2 separate regions of the Homo sapiens genome follow, and region 2 is linked to region 1. The links are contacts of gene promoters, found by promoter capture Hi-C in human tissues and cell types (Jung and others, 2019). All regions are on one chromosome and are shown on one strand. Each heading gives the region's core, a stretch centred on a gene start or on the middle of the fragment in contact. The rest is flanking DNA. Distances are from core to core; before and after follow the strand shown. Region 1 holds the start of ADCY6 (adenylate cyclase 6). Region 2 overlaps DDX23 (DEAD-box helicase 23).

Evidence for each region. Contacts are between HindIII fragments. The study calls those that stand out against the background at their distance.
Region 2: a contact is called between a fragment that was not itself captured here and the fragment with the promoter of ADCY6 in region 1, in 1 of the 25 tissues and cell types used here (pancreas).

The regions. Positions count from the first base shown.
Region 1 is chr12:48,787,322-48,791,827 of GRCh38, forward strand. ADCY6 (adenylate cyclase 6) reads right to left here and starts at 1,768. Exons shown (of 22, transcript NM_015270.5): 1 at 1,585-1,768. It overlaps ADCY6-DT (ADCY6 divergent transcript), which reads left to right and starts at 1,826. Exons shown (of 3, transcript NR_110019.1): 1 at 1,826-1,906; 2 at 2,664-2,798; 3 at 2,992-3,214. RefSeq lists an enhancer at 171-715. The HindIII fragment of the contact is 15,533 bases long and covers 1-4,506 here.
Region 2 is chr12:48,833,743-48,838,263 of GRCh38, forward strand. It overlaps DDX23 (DEAD-box helicase 23), which reads right to left. Exons shown (of 17, transcript NM_004818.3): 6 at 4,200-4,338; 7 at 3,782-3,915; 8 at 3,539-3,651; 9 at 3,152-3,295; 10 at 2,827-3,052; 11 at 2,379-2,524; 12 at 578-755. Among named protein-coding and RNA genes, the nearest start is that of DDX23, 16 kb to the right of the region's middle. The HindIII fragment of the contact is 5,776 bases long and covers 1-4,321 here.

The DNA.
Region 1 (4,506 bases), core at 518-3,017:
GAAACACATCCTAGCATCTGGCTCATACTCACAGAGAAAGGGGCAAATGCTATCCAGGAGAATGCATGACCCTCCCAGGAACACTCTGACCCCCCCCAAGGGGATAGCTTCAGAGCTATGTAATTGTCCAACCAACTGCAACCATCCCACCCTGGGCTCCACTCCAGGCACTGCCCATCCCGCAGAACTTGCCGGCCTCCCAACATTTCTGGCACCCCATGCCAGACTGGTATGGCAGGAAACAGGGTAGAGCACTGTTCCAAGCCACAAAATTTCTCTATATGGTCCCCCAACCCACTTTGTCCAGCAACCCATCACTATGAGCCCTGGGAGCACAGACCACCTCCCTCCTCCCCAGAGTCAGGCTCCTAAGCCTTGTGCCTCTACCTTCTCCTCCCCTGAGTGTTGGTCCATTTGCACTCTCACAGATCTGCTGTTCTTCATACCACCGGCTCCCACAGCCACAGCCATGTCCCATTCAGCCTGGCAGGCCCAGGCTCAGTGCCTCCCAGACCTCAAGTCCCTCCCAAACCCTGATCAGGCTGAGACCAGAGTTTGGAACCAGCCAAGGCCAAGGCCCAGCCCTAAGGATGGCTCTGCCCACTGCCTTGCCAAGCCTTCCTGGCCACCTCCTGTCTATCCCATCCCCAGGGCCCATCTGCCCCTGCCCTCCTTGGCAAAAGGAGGCTCCAGGGGATTAAAAACGACTTCAGAAAGTTCATGGTAAGAGGCACTGCCCAGGCGGGGCCCAGCAGTGCCAGCACCACCCACCATACTCGGACATGGGCCTCAATTCTTCAATTCTGGGCCTTTCCAGATGTAGAGGAGCCTACCCAGGGCCTGTATCTGTCGGTCCAGTGCCCGCTGCCGCCTTCTCCCATCCCCAGTCCTCACTCTCCCTAAAGATTACAGAGGGCTCCCACATCACCCTTTACTATGCAACCCCCACCAGGTCCCTCCAGCTCACAGGGGTAATCTGGTAAGGAGAGGATATGGGCAAAGAGGCTCCCACGCCTGATTCCACCTCTAGCCTTTCAGTCGAGCCCCAGAGTCTGCTTTGAATAAAGTCAGCTCCCCTGCCCACCCTGCGGCAGGCCTTGGGGGATGTGGGGAGCCGACCCCACCCCTTTCATTCCCAAGGTTTTGGGTGAGGGGAAGGAGAGGGACTCCCGCAGACAGAGGGCATCCCTCCCTCTGCCCAGGCCGGTTCCTCTCCCCTAAATGGAATCTCCCCCAAACTCGGAGACACCCCACAGCCCCGCAGCAAAAAACTCAGGCCAGCCCCTCCCCCAGTACGTGCCAGATCCTCCTGGCCTCCGGGCCAGCCTGGAACTCGCCCCGTGGAGGGAGGCAGGCGGCGGGCGACGGGGGTGGCGAGCGCCGGACCTAGGAGTCCTCGATCCCACTGCCTCCATGACTTCCCTTTGCCAACCCCAACTCCCTCGGGCAACACTGCCGAGACGACCCGTCCAAGGCTTCGGCGCCCCCACCCACAAACTCTTGTCGAGAGCCGCTCGGGTGCGTTCCAATCCTGGCGCACCGGGAGCCCGAGCGGCCACTTCCCCTAGCCCTCAGCGCGCTCACCTGCCGGCCCGGCTCCGCGCCTGCCCTGGGCCCCCGCCCCGCCGCCCCCGCGGGCTCCGGCCGGCCGGCCGGCCGTCCCGCGGTCCTCCGAGCCCGCGCGTCCTGGCCGTCCCGCCCGCCGTCCGCCGTCCGCCGTCCGCCCGGCCCTCGCCCCCTCCCGAGCTGTCCAGCGCAGCCGCCCTCTACCCCGGATCCAGAAGTCCCCTCCCCGCTGGCTCCCGGACTCCCCGCCTTAAAGGCACAAGCTCCTTTTGTCTGGGCATCCCCCTCCCCCTCCCCAGAAGTGGGGGCCGAGTTGCCCACTCCCCTTCCTAGCAGCGGGGTAGGGGCGGAGGAGGCCAAATAATGGGACCCCTCCCTCCGCGCGCCCCCTCCTCTCCTCCGGCCGCTTCCTCCCCCAGTCCTGGGAAGACAAGCAGCTACTGTTCTGGGATCAAGACCCCGCGGGGAGGGGACCTCGCAGCCCGGTCCCCTTCCCTTCACCCCGGCCGCCTCCTCCGGCATTCCTCTCCCGCCCTCACCCCGGGGGTCCCCGAGCGCGCCCGCAAACCCACCCCTCACGGCTACATCCCCCGCCCCGCCCACCGAGGGTCGCCTTCCTTCCTGTCAGGGTCCCAGGGGTTGGGCCGGCGCCCCGCGCCCACTCTTCATCCCCAATTCCTCCCTGCCCCTGCCCCAGCCCCAGCCCCCACCTAGCCATTCCCGCCCTGCCTGTCACGGCCCTGCGCCCTCCCGCGGGAACTCAGTTTAATAATTAATTAAGCTCTCATTCCACAAGGCGCCAGGTGTGTGCGGCCTGCTTGCCCGCACACCACTTCTTTCCTCTTCCCCCCAGTCTCTGGGGCAGCGGCCCCGAGGCGAACCTCGGGGCCCAGTGGAGGGACCCAGGGAAGGGGCACTCTCCCTGCCGCCCCCACAACCCCCCGCCCTACTCTCTGGGAGCCCCTCCCCCGCACCTGCCAACTTGCAGCCTCACCCCCAGGCATCTTTTACCCAAAGGGCTGTGCTTCTCTGCTGGGGGTTGGAGGGGCTACTGGGGTGCATTGCTAAGTGCACGAACTGAGAAACTGGGTCTTTAGTTATTTCCAGCACGGAGCAGCTGCCCAAGTTACCTGGGAGATGGGAAAATCGTGTGAAAGCTGGTTAACCCTTTGAGGATTAGAGTAATGGTGGAAGCAGAAAGGAGAAGGAGTTTCACTCCAGGATGTACGTAGGTGAGTGTGACTTTAGAGGGGGTGCCATTCTGGAGCTGGGAAGAAGGCAGCCTGCCTGGCTTCCTTTTGAGGCCCCCTCTCCATTCCCTCAGTCAGACCTCTAGCTCCTCCTTCCAATTCAGCCCTTCCCCAAGCAGCCTATTCCCCACCCAAGATCCCAAGACCTAGGTATCTGAAGATGCTTCCTCCTCAGGACCAGCCCTCCCTGCAGTCCTGTCCTTCAAGACTCAAGTCTTGTCCACTCCAAATCACCACTGGGATTCCTAAGTCCAGGACAGAGCTTCAGGCAAGGAAAAGAAGAGTTGGGAAAGCCAGTTTCCAACATTTATCAGCCACGTGTACCTGCAAACTATATACCTTGGGTAAATCATCAATCTCTTGAAATGGGAATAAAACCATCTGCCTTGTCTTTCTTACAGGGTTTTCAGAATCAGATAGAGAAATGTTTGTTATAATGTTTGAAAATGGGAAAGTGGTACTTTCTCATTTCTCAGTTGTGCAGGCCTGGCCTGCAATTTGATCTTTGGGGCCTCTTTGCCTGACTTCTCACTTCAAAATTTCCTTAAAAATTGTTTTTGCTGGCCGGGCGCGGTGGCTCACGCCTGTAATCCCAGCACTTTGGGAGGCCGAGGCGGGTGGATCACAAGGTCAAGAAATCGAGACCATTCTGGCCAACATGGTGAAACCCCGTCTCTATTAAAAATTAGCTGGGCGTGGTGGCGGGCACCTGTAGTCCCAGCTACTCGAGAGGCTGAGGCAGGAGAATCGCTTGAACCCGGGAGGCGGAGGTTGCAGTGAGCCGAGATCACGCCATTGCACTCCAGCCTGGGAGACAGAGCGAGACGCCGTCTCAAAAAAAAAAAATTGTTTTTGCTATCAAAATTTCCTCTTCAAAATACCTGAATCAGGTTATCTACCACTTACGCTTAGAATAATGTGCTCATGAGCCACATGGGGAAAATGCAAAAAACAATTGAGATAAATATGCGTTAAAAAATGAAATTTTAGGCCGGGTGCGGTGGCTCATGCCTGTAATCCCAGCACTTTGGGAGGCTGAGGCGGGCGGATCACAAGGTCAGGAGATCAAGATCATCCTGGCTAACACAGTGAAACCCCATCTCTACTAAAAACACACAAAAAATTAGCTGGGCGTAGTGGGGGGCGCCTGTAGTCCCAGCTACTCGGGAGGCTGAGGCAGGAGAATGGCGTGAACCCGGGAAGCGGAGCTTGCAGTGAGCGGAGATTGCGCCACTGCAGTCCGCAGTCCGGCCTGGGCGACAGAGCGAGACTCCGTCTCAAAAAAAAAAAAAAAAATTAAATTTTAGCTGGGCATGGTGGCTCATTCCTTTAATCCCAGCACTTTGGAAGGCCAAGGCAGGCAGATCACGAGGTCAGGAGTTTGAGACCAGCCTGACCAAAATGGTGAAACCCCGTCTCTACTAAAAATACAAAAATTATTGGGGAGTGGTGGCGCGCGCCTGTAATCCCAGTTACTAGGGAGGCTGAGGCAAGGGAATCGCTTGAACCTGGGAGGCGGAAGTTGCAGTGAGCTGAGATTGCGCCACTGCACTCCAGCCTGGGCAACACAGCAAGACTCTGTCTCAAAAAAAAAAAAAAATTAGCCCAGCGTGATGATACGTGCTTATAGTCCCAGCACCTTCCAGGCTCAAGTGATTCTCCTGTGTCAGCCTCCCGAGTAGCTGGGATT
Region 2 (4,521 bases), core at 184-2,683, 46 kb after region 1:
GACAGAGGAGGCAAAATCAGTAGAAACTTTTTTTTTTTTGGCAAATCATTTCAGATCCTGAAGAAGGAACTTCTTAGATGGGAGAGACTAAGGGGTACTATGAAGGGGGTTGTATAAAGACTAAATTTTTTTAAAAAATTGTAAAAAGACTAAATTTCTACAGCAGACTTCTCATAAAGAGCTCTCCTCCACTTTCCTGAGATGAAGGCAATGCACAAAGTCAAAGATTTGGTCTGGCAGAGTAAAGAGTAACTAAAAGCACAGGCTATGGATATGAGTCTCAGCTCTGCCCATTGCCAGCTGTTTGTGACTTCAGGCAGTTATTAACCTGAACCTCAGCTTGATCTATAACAAGGAAATACCACTCTCATACATTATTGTGAGAATTAATGAGCTAATATATATGATATATACTATTTGTGATATAAACCCTGGTGCATAAGTTCTCAATAAATAGCACATATATATAAACCAGCTCCTTTCTTCATACTACTGCACATATATTCCAGAAACTAGAAACAAAGCCCCAAGATAGCCTTCCCAGACAGCAGGCTGGCTGCTAGATAGAAAAACAAACCTCACAACCCATGCGCAGCCTGAAGCCCTGGTCTTCTCTGGAGATGCCACCAATGACAGCCACAGTGCGGATACCTAGCGGTTTCCCAAACTTGATGGTCTCTTCCTCAATCTGTTGAGCCAACTCACGGGTGGGAGCCAGGATGATGGCATAAGGGCCTTGGTCTGACTCTTCGATCCTGTGGTAAACAGGGTGCCCCACAGCTTCGTGAGCTTTGGTTCTTATCCAACCACAAGCCAGAGCAAGACAAAGTCACTCTTACGGGGAGCAATGGGAATGGGGAGGATGATGAGAAAAGAATGCAATGATCTCACTTAAAAATCAGAGGCCAGGGCTGGGCATGGTGGCTCATGTCTGTAATCCCAGAACTTTGGGAGGCTGAGGCAGGCGGATCACCTGAAGTCAGGAGTTTGAGACCAGCCTGGCCAACATGGTGAAACCCTGCCTCTAATAAAAATACAAAAATTAGCCAGGCGTGGTGGCCGGCGCCTGTAATACCAGCTACTCGGGAGGCTGAGGCAGAAGAATCGCTTGAACCCAGGAGACAGAGGTTGCAGTGAGCTGAGATCACGCCACTGCACTCCAGCCTGGGTGACAGAGACACTCTGTCTCCAAAAAAAATAAAAATAAAAATAAGTCCAGAGGCCAGGCAAGGTGGCACAAGCCTATAATCCGAGCACTTTCGGAGGCTGAGGTGAGTGAATCACTTGAGCCCAGGAGTTTGAGACCAGTCTAGGCAACATGGTAAAACCCTGTTTCTACAAAAAATACAAAAATTAGCTGGGCATGTTCGAACACACCTGTAATCCCAGCTACTTGGGAGGCTGAGGTAGGAGGATATGAGCCTGGGAGGCAACGGTTGCTGTAAGCCAAGATCACACCACTGCACTCCAGCCTAGACAATAGAGCGAGACTCCATCTCAAAAAATAAATAAATAAATAAATAATAAATACATAAAAATCAGAGATTCAGCCAGGTGCAGTGGTTCACGCCTGTAATCCCAGCACTTTGGGAGGCCAAGGCAGGCAGATCAGTTGAGATCGGGAGTTTGAGACCAGCCTGGCCAACATGGTGAAACCTCATCTCTACTAAAAATGTAAAAATTAAGGACAGGCACACTGGCTCACGCCTGTAATTCCAACACTTTGGGAGGCTGAGGCAGGCAGATCACTTGAGGTCAGGAGTTAGAGACCAGCCTGACCAACATTGAGACCCCGTCTCTACTAAAAATACAAAAAAATTAGCCGGGCATGGTGACGGGCACCTATAATCCCAGCTACTTGGGAGGCTGAGGGAGGAGAATCACTTGAACCTGGGAGGAGGAGGTTGCAGTGAGCCGAGATTGCGCCATTGCACTCCAGCCTGGGCAACAAGAGCGAAACTCCGTCTCAAAAAACAAAACAAAACAAAAAACCAAAAATTAGCTAGAAGTGGTGGCACACGCCTGTAATCCCCAGCTACTCAGGAGGATGAAGCAGGAGAATCACCTGAACCTGGGAGGCAAAAGTTGTAGTGAGCTGAGATCGTGCCACTGCACTCCAGCCTGGGTGACAGAGTGAGACTCTGCCTCAAAAAAATAAATAAAATAAATCAGAGACTCCAGGATAGCAAAGTTCTCCAGGTCTTTGCCAGCAACATATACTTCTTCGATATCATGATCCAATTATTCCCTAATATCCAACAAAGAATAAAGAAGAAAGCTTCTGATTATAGACGTAAAACAAAAATCAAACATTCATTTGCCACTTTCACCTTTCCTACCCAGACAAACCCACTCCAGCTGGTGCTAGCTGACCTCACCTGTCAATTTTGGGAAGTGTGGTGATCCAGACCAGCAGAGGGATGAGGAAGGCTGCTGTCTTGCCACTGCCAGTCTCAGCCACACCAATGATGTCACGATTCTGTAGCCCAATGGGAATTGCCTGACGCTGTATAGGTGTTGGTTCCTGCAGTGACCCCAAGAAAGAGTAATAGGTACAGGGAGAGTTATACCACCTGGGCAACCACTGATAGTAGTAAGCACATCTGCTAGCACAATGGAAGGATGCCAAGTACAGTTCACAGAAATAGGGACCCCAAGAAGAAACCTAATCACTAAAAGCCAACACTTCTACCAGAAAGTGACAGAAAAGGTCACATTGGTGCCCACTAGCAGCGATGGCTCCAAATAGTCAAGGAACAAAGTTCTCTATTCCCAAACTAGTGTAGGAACATGTCAGATCTCTTGGGCCAATCTATCCCTCCTTACCTTGTAGCCACACTTATCAATGACCTCCAAGATGTGTGGGGGCAGAGAAGAGTCTTTCCAGGATCGGATGGGATTGGGGATCTTGCCACCTTTGGTGGTGATGCTGTAGTCCTCACGGAAGATCCGCCAGTCCCTGTCCGTCATCTCATCTAACTTTTTCTGAGACCAATGACGATCATCCCAGCGCTGCTTGGCTTCCTTCTTACGAAGTTTGCGGAGTCTTGCCCTGGAGCAGGGTGTGAGGAGTAAGTAGAATCAGTGCCCTCCAACTCCTTTCTGTAGAGCCTCTGGGCTCTGTCCAGCCACCCTAGCCTTGATCACTCACTCCTCCTGCTCCTTTTCTTCCAGGGTTCGCCTCTTCTCCATTAGGTCTCCATAGAAACGTGACTGCTCTCGCTTCTGCTGCTTGAGGTCAATGCCTGCAATGAAGCCTCGCCCTAACAACTGCACCTGGTGCCGTTCTTTGTACCTGGGATTGAGATAGAGGAAAAGAAAAAAGAAGGAGCTGTTAACGGCAGTAGGAAGGAAGGGCAGACTACTAGTATGAAACAGTTCTTCCCAGACAGGGTCTTTCTTCCACCAGAGGGCTGGCTGACTACCAGTCTACCAATTTTCCATCCCAGCTTATCTTACTTCCTCCACCTCCGTAGTCATCAGCTCTCTAGGACTGCCTAGTGGAAAAGACCTAGAACTCAGGCCTGAAGCCACTCACAGGGGGTTGTAGTCAATGGATGTGTCCTCAGATGCATCCCACTCAAAAACAAATTTCCGGTCATTGAGATGTCTCGTTCGGCGCCGCTTTTTGATGCCACCCAGGTAACGCTCCTACCCAGGGACAGAACACAAAGCACATGAGCTTTGAGGCCCAATTCTCACATGCAGAGATCACAATGGCCAAATAACTAAACCTCATTTTTGTGTGGGAGAGAAGTGAAGATGGAGCCAAGGCCTGCACCTTAATGGCATGCAGTTCCTTGCTCTTATCCTTCTCTTCCCGGATCTTCTGCCGCCCTTCCTCATCCTCATTTCCATTGGTCTCCCGTTCCATCCTCTCCCTGCGTTCCCGACGTTCCCGTTCCTGAGGATCTTCTGCAGACCAAAGAAAGCAAAGCTGCAGAAGAGCTCATGGAAGAAAAGAGGAGAGGGAATGGAGGGAATCCAGACGAGGAACCCCAAATGAAGAAAAAAAGGGGTAGACTTATGATATGGGGTAAATGGAGATCTAACAGAAAAATGTTTTCTCATAAACTCCCACCATCCTTCCCCTTTCCAAACTCCAGAGTGAACAGGTTTCTATCTCTCCTAAGAGACACTGTATCTCATCCCACTCTTTCCTCTTCCATCTAGGGGCTACACAGGGTAGAATAACAAACCCAACATCTTCCTGCCCAAGTCTTGGAACTGTTTCCTTTTCTTCCTCTCTTCTTCAAGCATCCTCTGCCGCTCTTCCACCTCCTGCTGCCGTCGCTTTAGAGCTTCAGCCTCTCGTTCTGCTTTAGAGAGGAACTTGGGCTACAAAAGAGATTGGAACTGTCAACAAAGGATCTGGGAGCAGGGTACAATCACATCACTGATGGGGAGATGGCAGGGAACCCAAAAGTATTTGCTCAGGCATTAAGCCTGTTGAGGAAAACACAAATAGGCCTTGGACTCGGTTATGGACTGAACTATGTCCCCTACAGAATTCATATGTTT